Regions from separate parts of the Homo sapiens genome. Here region 2 is linked to region 1. Evidence: promoter capture Hi-C in 16 types of primary human blood cells and fetal thymus (Javierre and others, 2016). All regions are on one chromosome and are shown on one strand. Each heading gives the region's core, a stretch centred on a gene start or on the middle of the fragment in contact. The rest is flanking DNA. Distances are from core to core; before and after follow the strand shown. Region 1 holds the start of MAP2K4 (mitogen-activated protein kinase kinase 4). Region 2 overlaps MAP2K4 (mitogen-activated protein kinase kinase 4).

The links. Contacts are between HindIII fragments. The CHiCAGO score rates a contact against its expected background, and 5 or more counts as called.
Region 2: a fragment that was not itself captured here is called in contact with the fragment with the promoter of MAP2K4 in region 1 in 6 of 17 cell types (activated CD4 T cells, naive CD8 T cells, total CD8 T cells and 3 more); the score reaches 9.0 in activated CD4 T cells.

The regions. Positions count from the first base shown.
Region 1 is chr17:12,018,848-12,023,653 of GRCh38, reverse strand. MAP2K4 (mitogen-activated protein kinase kinase 4) reads right to left here and starts at 2,777. Exons shown (of 11, transcript NM_003010.4): 1 at 2,653-2,777. The coding sequence starts at 2,767. It also overlaps a transcript of ZNF18 not described here. RefSeq lists a silencer at 2,061-2,940 and an enhancer at 2,477-2,977. The HindIII fragment of the contact is 6,257 bases long and covers 1,122-4,806 here.
Region 2 is chr17:12,058,051-12,062,675 of GRCh38, reverse strand. All of the region lies in intron 2 of MAP2K4 (mitogen-activated protein kinase kinase 4), which reads right to left. Among named protein-coding and RNA genes, the nearest start is that of MIR744, 22 kb to the left of the region's middle. The HindIII fragment of the contact is 3,297 bases long and covers 1,379-4,625 here.

The DNA of each region.
Region 1 (4,806 bases), core at 1,528-4,027:
TTCAAGGTTATCCAGTGCCCACCACAGTGCTTACCACATAAGAGGATGTCCAATGTCTACTGCATGAAACATTCCTTATGTTCCACAACTGAATCCTGCTGTTTCAGAGAGCATGGTCATTAACAACTCCCAGAAAGGAAGTTTTTTGAGTGGCAAGTATAATTAGATTGGGGGAGAAGGAATGGAAGTACATCAAACATCTTCTAAGGCCCACTCTGTGAAGTCTGATCTAAAGCAAAAGAAGACCCTTGGCAGATGAAGTACAGTATGGGAGGTGTGACTCCCATACAATTGGATGGGAATCTTTCTTTTTGGGTTCTTATAAGATTTCCTCTTCAAGGGCCTCACAATTAAGATACAGAACAAAACAAACCAAAAAGAAGGATCCTAAATTGCTGCTTAAGTTCAAGCTTTATAACAGACTGTTCTAGACAACATCCTGAGAATATCAAGCACTTCATTCTGACTAATGAAAAAAGTTTCAAGAACAAGATATAACACATTCCTGAATCAATCAAGACTAGACACAATATTGATAAAAAAGAAAATTCGGCAATAATTCATAGAGAGGTCTTAGGTCCTTTTTCCTTCTAAAATGGGTTCTGCTTATTAGAAAGTTTAGTTAACTGGGTATCAACATACAAGGGCTGAGGAGAACGGACAGCATCAGAAAAAGTCCTAACCACTGCCTTAGGAGTTCCTAGAACACTCCAAGCTCTTCCCTGCTTTGGAACCTTCATACACACAGTTCCTCTGCCTAGAACCGTCTTCAGGTAAAAGAGGGTTAGCTTTCCAGACAAGCCTTCTCTGACCATCTTATCAAGCGGACTGCCCTCTATTATCTTCTATCACAAAACCCAGCTTGTTACCTTTATTACTTTTCCAACTAGTAATTTTTCATGTTTAGCTAAATAGCCTTCCCTCCCCCATCTTCACAGGGGGATAACCTCCATGAGGACAGTTAGAGATGTTCAATTCTCTATAAACTCAGCATGAGCGTTTTATGCAGATGCTCAATAAATATTTTTTGAACCAAAAAAACACACTGTATCCAGCTATTTCAAACTGTCAGCCTCCCCACCAATAAAACAAACAAACAAATCACCTTGTTTTTATAAGCTTTGTAAGTCACCCATCTGGAACAAGAAATACAATCCTAAATTGTCATTTTGCCATTTCATTTCGCCCCAACCACCACCACCTAAATTGTAAAGCTGTACAGTCAGGAAGTCAATCTTATACTTCATCAGTATAATGTGCTGTGCAACACAGTGGGCATCCAATAACTAATTCAATTTGAATGAATTATCTGAGGGCCTGCACAGAAAGTGTCCTCTAAGCTCTGACATCATCCTGTCTATATATCTATCACTGGTTTTTATGTATATTAAAATTATTTCATGGGGAGGGTGACAGGGATGTAAAGATAAATAAAATCCTGTCTCTTCTTTCTGAATTATGGCATGCTCTATAAACATGAACTATTCAATAAATGTCTGTTGAACCTAACTAAATGCTAGAAGCCCTTTAAGAGGAATGGAATCAAAAAGTAACCATGGTCACACTGACTACCAAGGGTACCCCAACCCTTATTCTGTTAATAATTCAACACAAGCAGTTTGCTAAAGTTGTCAAGAGAGTTCTGAGATTCCCTGTTTTAAAAATAGCATTACTACTCAAAATTCCCCAGTAAATTTAAGGAAATGGTCCCTAACAGGCTCGGGCCTGGCCTGGTATTTTCACAACACCCCCTGTCAAAAGCCATACACAGCTAATAAGCATTCCCAGTGGGGAAAGTCATTAATTAGCAGAGCTGCCTCAAATGTCCAGACACTACAGTATCACTTTGACCCCTGTCTATTTCCTGTATCTCTCCATTTAAACCAAATTAAGTCTTCTTTTTTTTTTTTTTTTTTTTTCTTCCTGCACGCAATGCTAACACAGAAATCCCTGGCCTGGAACAAAATGCCTCTCCCAGGCCAATGCAGCCTACCTACCTTACAGGTGGCACAGGCCTGGGCAACCCGCCCCCCACCCCCATCCCTTCCAGCGCACAGAAACCCTGCAAAAGTTTGAAAACGCAGGTTCCAAGAGGCCCCCGTAGCCCGAGGTCAGCTCGGTGGTCCGGCTCCAGCTGTGCCCGGCGACAGCCAAGATGGCCCTGAGCGGGGCCCACTGCGGCGGCGGGGCCGAGGGGCGCCGGCCGGGGCCGCTGTCTTCGCCGCCTACCTGAGCGGCGTCAGGGACCAGGGGGCAGGCCCGACGCCCCTCCCGCTCCGCCGCAGCCCCGAGCCGGCGCGTTCCCGGAAACGGGGGCCGGGCGGGCGCCAGGTAAGCGGCGGGGGCGATGGGGACGGCCGCGGGGGCGGTCCCGGACCAGGTGGGCCCTGCGGGCCTGCTGAGAGCCCGGTAGGGCCCAGGGGCCAAGCGCAGGCAGAGGCCGCGGCCGGGGCCTATGCGGGCCGGAGCCCGGATCCAAGCCGGGCCGGAGGCGGCCGGGAGCGGGGCGGGAAGCCGGGGAGGGAGAGAGGGAGAAGCCGGCGGCTGCCGTGGCTTCCTCAGCCGGGTCCGGGGGCGTCCGCTGGGGCAGGCCGCGACGACGCGGGTTGCCGCGCTAGGGGGCTGGGATCTCGGCGCGGCCGCGTTCCTTACCCTGCATGCTGCTGACGGCCGGGTGGCCTGGCGCCGGGGACCCTACGGGGCCGGGGGTGCCGCTGCCGCTGCCGCCCCCGGAGCCGCCGCCGCCGCTCGGGCTCGGAGCCGCCATTGTTGGGAGTGAAGAGCCGAGCGGCGCCGCGGCGGCTGCAATGCAGCAAGCTCGGCCTCTCGCACGGCCGAGGGGCGAGGCTTACCCCCGCCTTGGCCCCGCCTCCGACACGCCCCGGACACGCCTCCTGACACGCCCCCGCCAGAGCCCGACGCGCAGCCCGGGCCAGATGCTGAGCTGCAGAACCGCCCGGCTCTGGGTGCGCGACCTGTGAAGCAGACAGCTGTCTTGGACCAGGGCTGCGGGCCCGCGGGGCCTAAAGTGGTTTGCAGAATTAAAGGTGGGCCTGCATTTGTGCGGAAAGAAGGTACGCAGCTTTCATCATTCCCATGGAGGTCTGTGACTCCCAAAAGTCCACTTTGTTGGAATCTCAGAACCCCAAATCAGAATAGTAAAGCTGAAAAGGATCCCAGGGATCCCTTTCTCCTCCAGTCGCTAACACATCACTTCCAGAAGGGAGTTACCTAGAGCTATGGTTACAGTCTGGAACTCCTCTTAAGCCCAATACCCCAACCCTCTACACTTCTCTGAGGGGAAAGGGGAGTCCCAAGGGGAACTAACCAAAGTGCTGTCCATGGACCCATCCCAAAACTACTGAATTAGAGGTTACATTTTAATAATACCACCAGGTAATTTGTATGCCCATTAAATTTGAGAAGCATATATTTAAGCACTCGACACTTCCCAGCCTCCTGAAATATGCTATCTACATCACCATCTTCCCCTAAATGCACACTGGATTCCCTCTCCCAAATCCTTTACATCTTGTATAAGACGAGCCGTAGTCATTATTGTAAGTTACATAAAATGACAACCCCAAAAAACAATATGAGGTTTCTTCCATTGCTTTGCACAGAGACTTTTATTTTAGGAAGACAGTAGCTAAAAGAAGAAAAAGTTCTCTATGAGGCTACGATTTGTAAGCCAACCATAATGTACTCGAAATGGTAAGACATGGGTTTCTGGCCAGGCAGCCTTGCCTAAAATGGAATAGCCAGTTATCCTACTTCCCAAAGAATCTAAGCCATGGAGCTGGACATTTTCTCCCATTTAGAAGCATTGTGTGATCTACAGCTAGACTTCTTTCCCAAAACTTCTTCCACCCAGATGTTATTTGATGCTGAGAGTTCTTCACAGCATGTTGGAAATGTGTCCTGGGTCAAAATAGCCCTGCCTTCTTGTTCCAAACCCAATTTCATCCATCATCTTGATGGCTCAGATCCTAAAAGTGGCTAGCCGTAAACATCAAGTGGAGAGGCATTAAAGGCAAATTGAAGGTGAGAGCAGGTAGGTGTACTTCAGTGGAGAGCCCGCCAGAATTCTCCTCCATGGGCCTCGTTGGCTGCCCAATATCTTCAAGTCCAGGTCTTATAAACATGGCCAGATTCCCATCTGGAAATCAGTAGCCCACCCAGCTCTTGTTGCTCCTAGGGCATCTTAATTATGAGCCATCATAACTGGCCTTTAATAAGAATTTAATATATATTCTTTTAATAGAAATCCTAGAAGCAGCACTACAGATTAGGCAACTACTAGAAAATTAATTTAAACACACACACACACACACACACACACACACACACACACACACATCCAATATTATAAATAACATATATTAAAGAAGGCTGGGGATGTTGGCTCACACCTGTAATCCCAGCACTTTGGGAGGCCAAGGCGGGTGGATTACGTGAGGTCAGGAGTTAGTGACCAGCCTGGCCAACGTGGTGAAACCCTGTCTCTACTAAAAATACAGAAAAAAACAAAAATTAGCCGGTGTGGTGGCAGGTACCTATAATCCCAGCTACTAGGGAGGCTGAGGCAGGAGAATCGCTTGAACCTGGGAGGCAGAGGTTGCAGTGAGCCGAGATTGTGCCACTGCACTCCAGCCTGGGTGACAGAGCAAGACTCCATCTATTAAAAAAAATATGTATATATATAGTTATATTTATATATATATAGGAAAACCTTCAACCTAGCAAATTCATTAAGGGAAATTGGGAAACTGAATTAAAAGAGAAATACAATAAAAATATAACTAA
Region 2 (4,625 bases), core at 1,778-4,277, 39 kb before region 1:
TAAAACTGCTGATCTATTATGAGGGTTATTTATTTAAAGACATTTTCAAGGCCAGGCAGTGGTTCATGCCTGTAATTCCAGCACTCTGGGAGGCCGAGGCAGGAAGATAGCTTGAGTTCGAGACCATCCTGGGCAACATAGCAAGACCCTGTCCTCTACAAAATAATTTAAAAATGAGCCAGGGATGGTGGCACATGCCTATAGTGCCAGCTACTCAGAAGGCTAAGGTAGGAGAATCACTTGAGTCCAGTGGTTCAAGACTGCAGCGAGCTATGATAGCACCATTTACTCCAGCCAGGGCAACAGAGCAAGATCCTGTCTGAAAAAAGACAAAGGCATATTCAGGCATACAAACACCCAAAAAGCTTGAGAAATAATTAAAAACTACTAAGAAAGAATTCTTATCTCAGGAAGACTTAGAATATATACTCTACCAAAATGAGAGTGGGAAAGTGAAAAATAAAAAAAGATGAAATCCCGGAAACAGATAATCAGAATCAGGCATTCACAAAACAATGGCAACAGCCCTGTGAAGCAGACCTCAAGTGCAACCACTCCAGATTAAAGCAAGAGTATGGATGGATAGCTAACTCAAAAAAAGAAAAAAAGGGGGGGGAGAGGGGGAGAACTGAGTGACCAACTGATGTATTTAACTATGTTGAGAGAAGATTCACAGTGAACCATATATGAGGCAGTTATTAACTCTGGGGAAAACAAATTTGCTCAAGAACAATAATATAATCATACTGTTACTCAGTTGTAGATAATTTAAAAAAAAACACACTGAAAAAAGTTACCTTCATATAGCAAATTTCCTTAATAATAGATAAAAGTTTCCAGAAACATACATACTGCAAAGATAAAAGGCCTTATAATATTCTGATTGAAATCAGAACTCAAAAACATAACTGCCTGATTAGAAATGGTTGGAAAACTCATCAATAGCTAAGAAGTCAGATGTATCTTCAAGGAGCAGCACTTAGAAGTACTGTGGGTTAAAAAACCAGGGCTATCTTCTAATGTCTGCCTCAGTCTCTGATTCAAGAACAAAGATGATTTATAACACCAAAAGCACACAACTCAACAGCATGTATCATTAATCTATGCAAATACATATTCCAGAATTAGCATCCACCACCTCAGCTATAAACATCCAGCTTGAAGGGAATGTGAATCTCAAGGGGGTAGGGGCCCACAAAGAAAATCAGTTCTACCACTCCTATTACCACTGCCACCTCTGTCGAGAATCACTTCTCCAGTGAATTGCTGACTTATGGAAGTGTACCACAGCCTCAGGTACACTGAGGTGGAATGTGGGACTAAAGATAAGACTGAATATCCCTAAACTGTAACATTAAGAAGTACAATGATCTAAGCTTTAAAGATTATCCCAAACACAGCATCATTATTTACTAGAGCCAAAAGGTACAAACAACCCAAATGTCCAACAACAGATGAATGGCTAAACAAAATGCTGCATACACATAACAATAAAATAATATTTATTCACCCTTAAAAAGAAGGGTGGAGAAAGATACATTCTACAACATGAATGAACCTTGAAGACATTATTTTGAATGAGATAAGCTAGACACAAAATAAATATTGTTATGATTCCACTTATGAGAGGTACCTAAAAAGTAGTTAGATTCATAGAGACAGAAAGTAGAATGGTGGGCGCCAGGGCTAGAAGGAAGGGAGAATAAGGACTTATTGCTTAACGGGTACAGAAGTTCGATCTGAGAAGATGAAAAAGTTCTAGAGATGGATGATGGTGACAAATGTACAACAATGTGAACACAATTAATCCCAATGAACTGTATACTTAAAATGGTTAAGATAAAAATTTTTACGTTATGTATATTTACTACAGTAAGAAAAAAGATTCGCAGCAGTAGCACCAAACCAGCCACACACACACACGCGCGCACACACACACACACACACCCCATAGTATTTAACACATTTGAGATTAAACATCATCTATTAATACATACCCATAAATACTTCTACCATTACCGCTATTTTGTAAAAGTGGTCCACCACAGAAATGCAGAGATTTCACAGTATCATGATTGCTTCAAAAAATTTCAGAGACAGAAAAAAACTTCCAAATTCATGTAGATTAGAGGTATTCACACTTAGAAATCCACCAGAGATGTCCTGGGACTATTCTGGGGAATGAAGGCAGACAACGCTACAAAACTCTCTCCCACCTCACAAACACTTCAGTCAGCACAGTTCCTCCTTTATCTTTTTAGCCTATCAGTTTTGTACATGAGACTTTATTTAAAGAAGGCAGTGCAAGGCTGGCTTAATTCTCTCCCCTTCCTATTCATTATATAAAATAGTGTATGTCGCTATTCTAATTCAATGCCTAAATTGAGAGCAGAATTAAGTGATAAAGTCAAGGACACAGAGATAACGACAACACCAGGATAGAAATCCAGACTCCTAAATTTCTACCCATTGTTATTTCTTTTTAAAAACAATTTTTTTTTTTTTTAATAGAGACAGAGTCTCAACTCTTACACAGGCTGGAGTGCAGTGGTACACTGTAGCCTCAACCTCCAGGGCTCAACTGACCCTTCTACCTCAGCCTCCCAAGTAGCTGGGACCACAGGCGCACACCATCACACGTGGCTAATTTTTTCTATTTTTGTAGAAATGGGGTTTTGCCATGTTGCCCAGCCTGGTCTCGAACTTCTTGGCTCAAGCAATCCTCCTGCCTCGACCTCCCAAAGTGCTGGGATTGCAGGCGTGAGCAACTGTGCCCGGCCTCGTCATTAATTCTAAGACAGCAACGTTTATAAGACACAGTTCTCACAATTTAACCAAGAGAAGAAGAAATTCTAAGTTTTAAGATAAAGTTCTACTGAGAAGGCTCATCAAGAAATACGAGGAATATTAGTTATTAACTAGGGACTTTGAAACCTCTTTAAACTACTCCTAGATGTTCTATAGCACAACTGAGTCTCTGTCTGTTCCAATGTAATAAACAAAGATAAGGGAAATCCTAGAGATCCTCTGGTCTAAAGAGAGCACTTTAAACTTAAAACGTGTGGTTCCAAAACTCTTAAGCCCCAAAATGTTATCTGCATCCACCACTATTTATTTCCAGTGTTAACTTTTAAGCTAGTGTTTTTTCTTGACAATTGTGATATGTTATGAAGATAAAAGGGATGTTCTTTCAGAATAACAATTGTACTGAATATATTCTAAACGACTCAGTACACTGAGAGCACTCAACCATAACTCACTATCATGAAAACACAGAATGTTTAACAGAATATCTACTTCTGTTTGTCAAATTCATATACACAACATGATTTTAACACAAGCTGGCCACATTTATAAGAATATCCCTAGAGTATCAAAAAGATTTATAGTGTTTAGTAGAATCCAAACCTGATGAAAATTTAAAAGGTAGCCACACATTTTTCCTTTGCTTTTTCTTTGTACTCTTTGGCTATCCAGTTTAATCTTTCATTTTAAAAGCCAAGGGAAAAAATGTTAGTGGGTACAAGAGTCTCTATTATAATATGCATTTTCTGTCAAAAATATTTCTAATTTTAATCATTGATAATTAAAAATCAAGGTTTCCTGTTCAGGTTGTCTCCTCATCCTCCAAGATCCCCCCAAAAATCCTTTTTTTAAGGAAATAAGCAATAAATTAAAAGAATTAAATTTCTGAATGCCTGAGTAGATAAAAATGTATCACAAAGAAAAACTAATCGATTTCAAGAGAAGGAACTCTAGTTTAAAAGACTGATCAGCTAACTGCATAGAATGCAGGACCTTGTATAGACCTCACTTCAAACTATTAAAAATAAAAAAACTAATGAGGTCATCTGCTTATTTGATGATATTAAAGATTTATTCTACTAGATGTAGCAATGGTACTATGATTATGTCTTTTAAAAGCAGCTCTTATCTTTTATAAATGCATACTAAAATATTTGTAGATTGCATAACATCTGAGATTTGGTTAAAACTAAGGGGTTGAAGGAAAAGATAAAACAACATTGGCCATGCTATTAACTGTTGAAGCTGTTAAAGCTGATTGACAGTAAAGACAGATTCATCTACCACTTTACTTTTGGGTAGGTATGCAATTTTCCATAATAAAAGGTTTAAAAATAAACAGAAAAAACTATAACCTATAACACATGGTAGGAGGCAGGCATGCAGTGAATATGAGGGACAAATCATGGTCCCAATAGAACACTGGATCAGAGAGAATTCATGGTCAGAAGAAATGAAGGCCTAGAAACCAGAGTTAATTAAACTTCTTTCTATAAGGAAGTTCTAGGCCAGGCGCAGTACCTCATGCCTGTAATCCCAGCACTCTGGGAGGCTGAGGCGGGAGGATCCCTGGAATCCAGGAGTTCAAGACCAGCCTGGGCAATATAGTGAGACCCTGCCACTTAAAAAAAAAAAAAAAAAAAGAAAGGTCTAGTTAATTCCACTTTTCCTCTTTATTCTTCCCCTAAAATAAAAAGGGGGCATGTCTTCAAAGAGAACAAACACATCTGGAGAGAACCAGGCTTCCTAAGGTGAATTTTGGCTCTACTAATTCTAGCATTGGTAATATTCCTGGCCTAAGAGCTAGCTCTCAAAATACT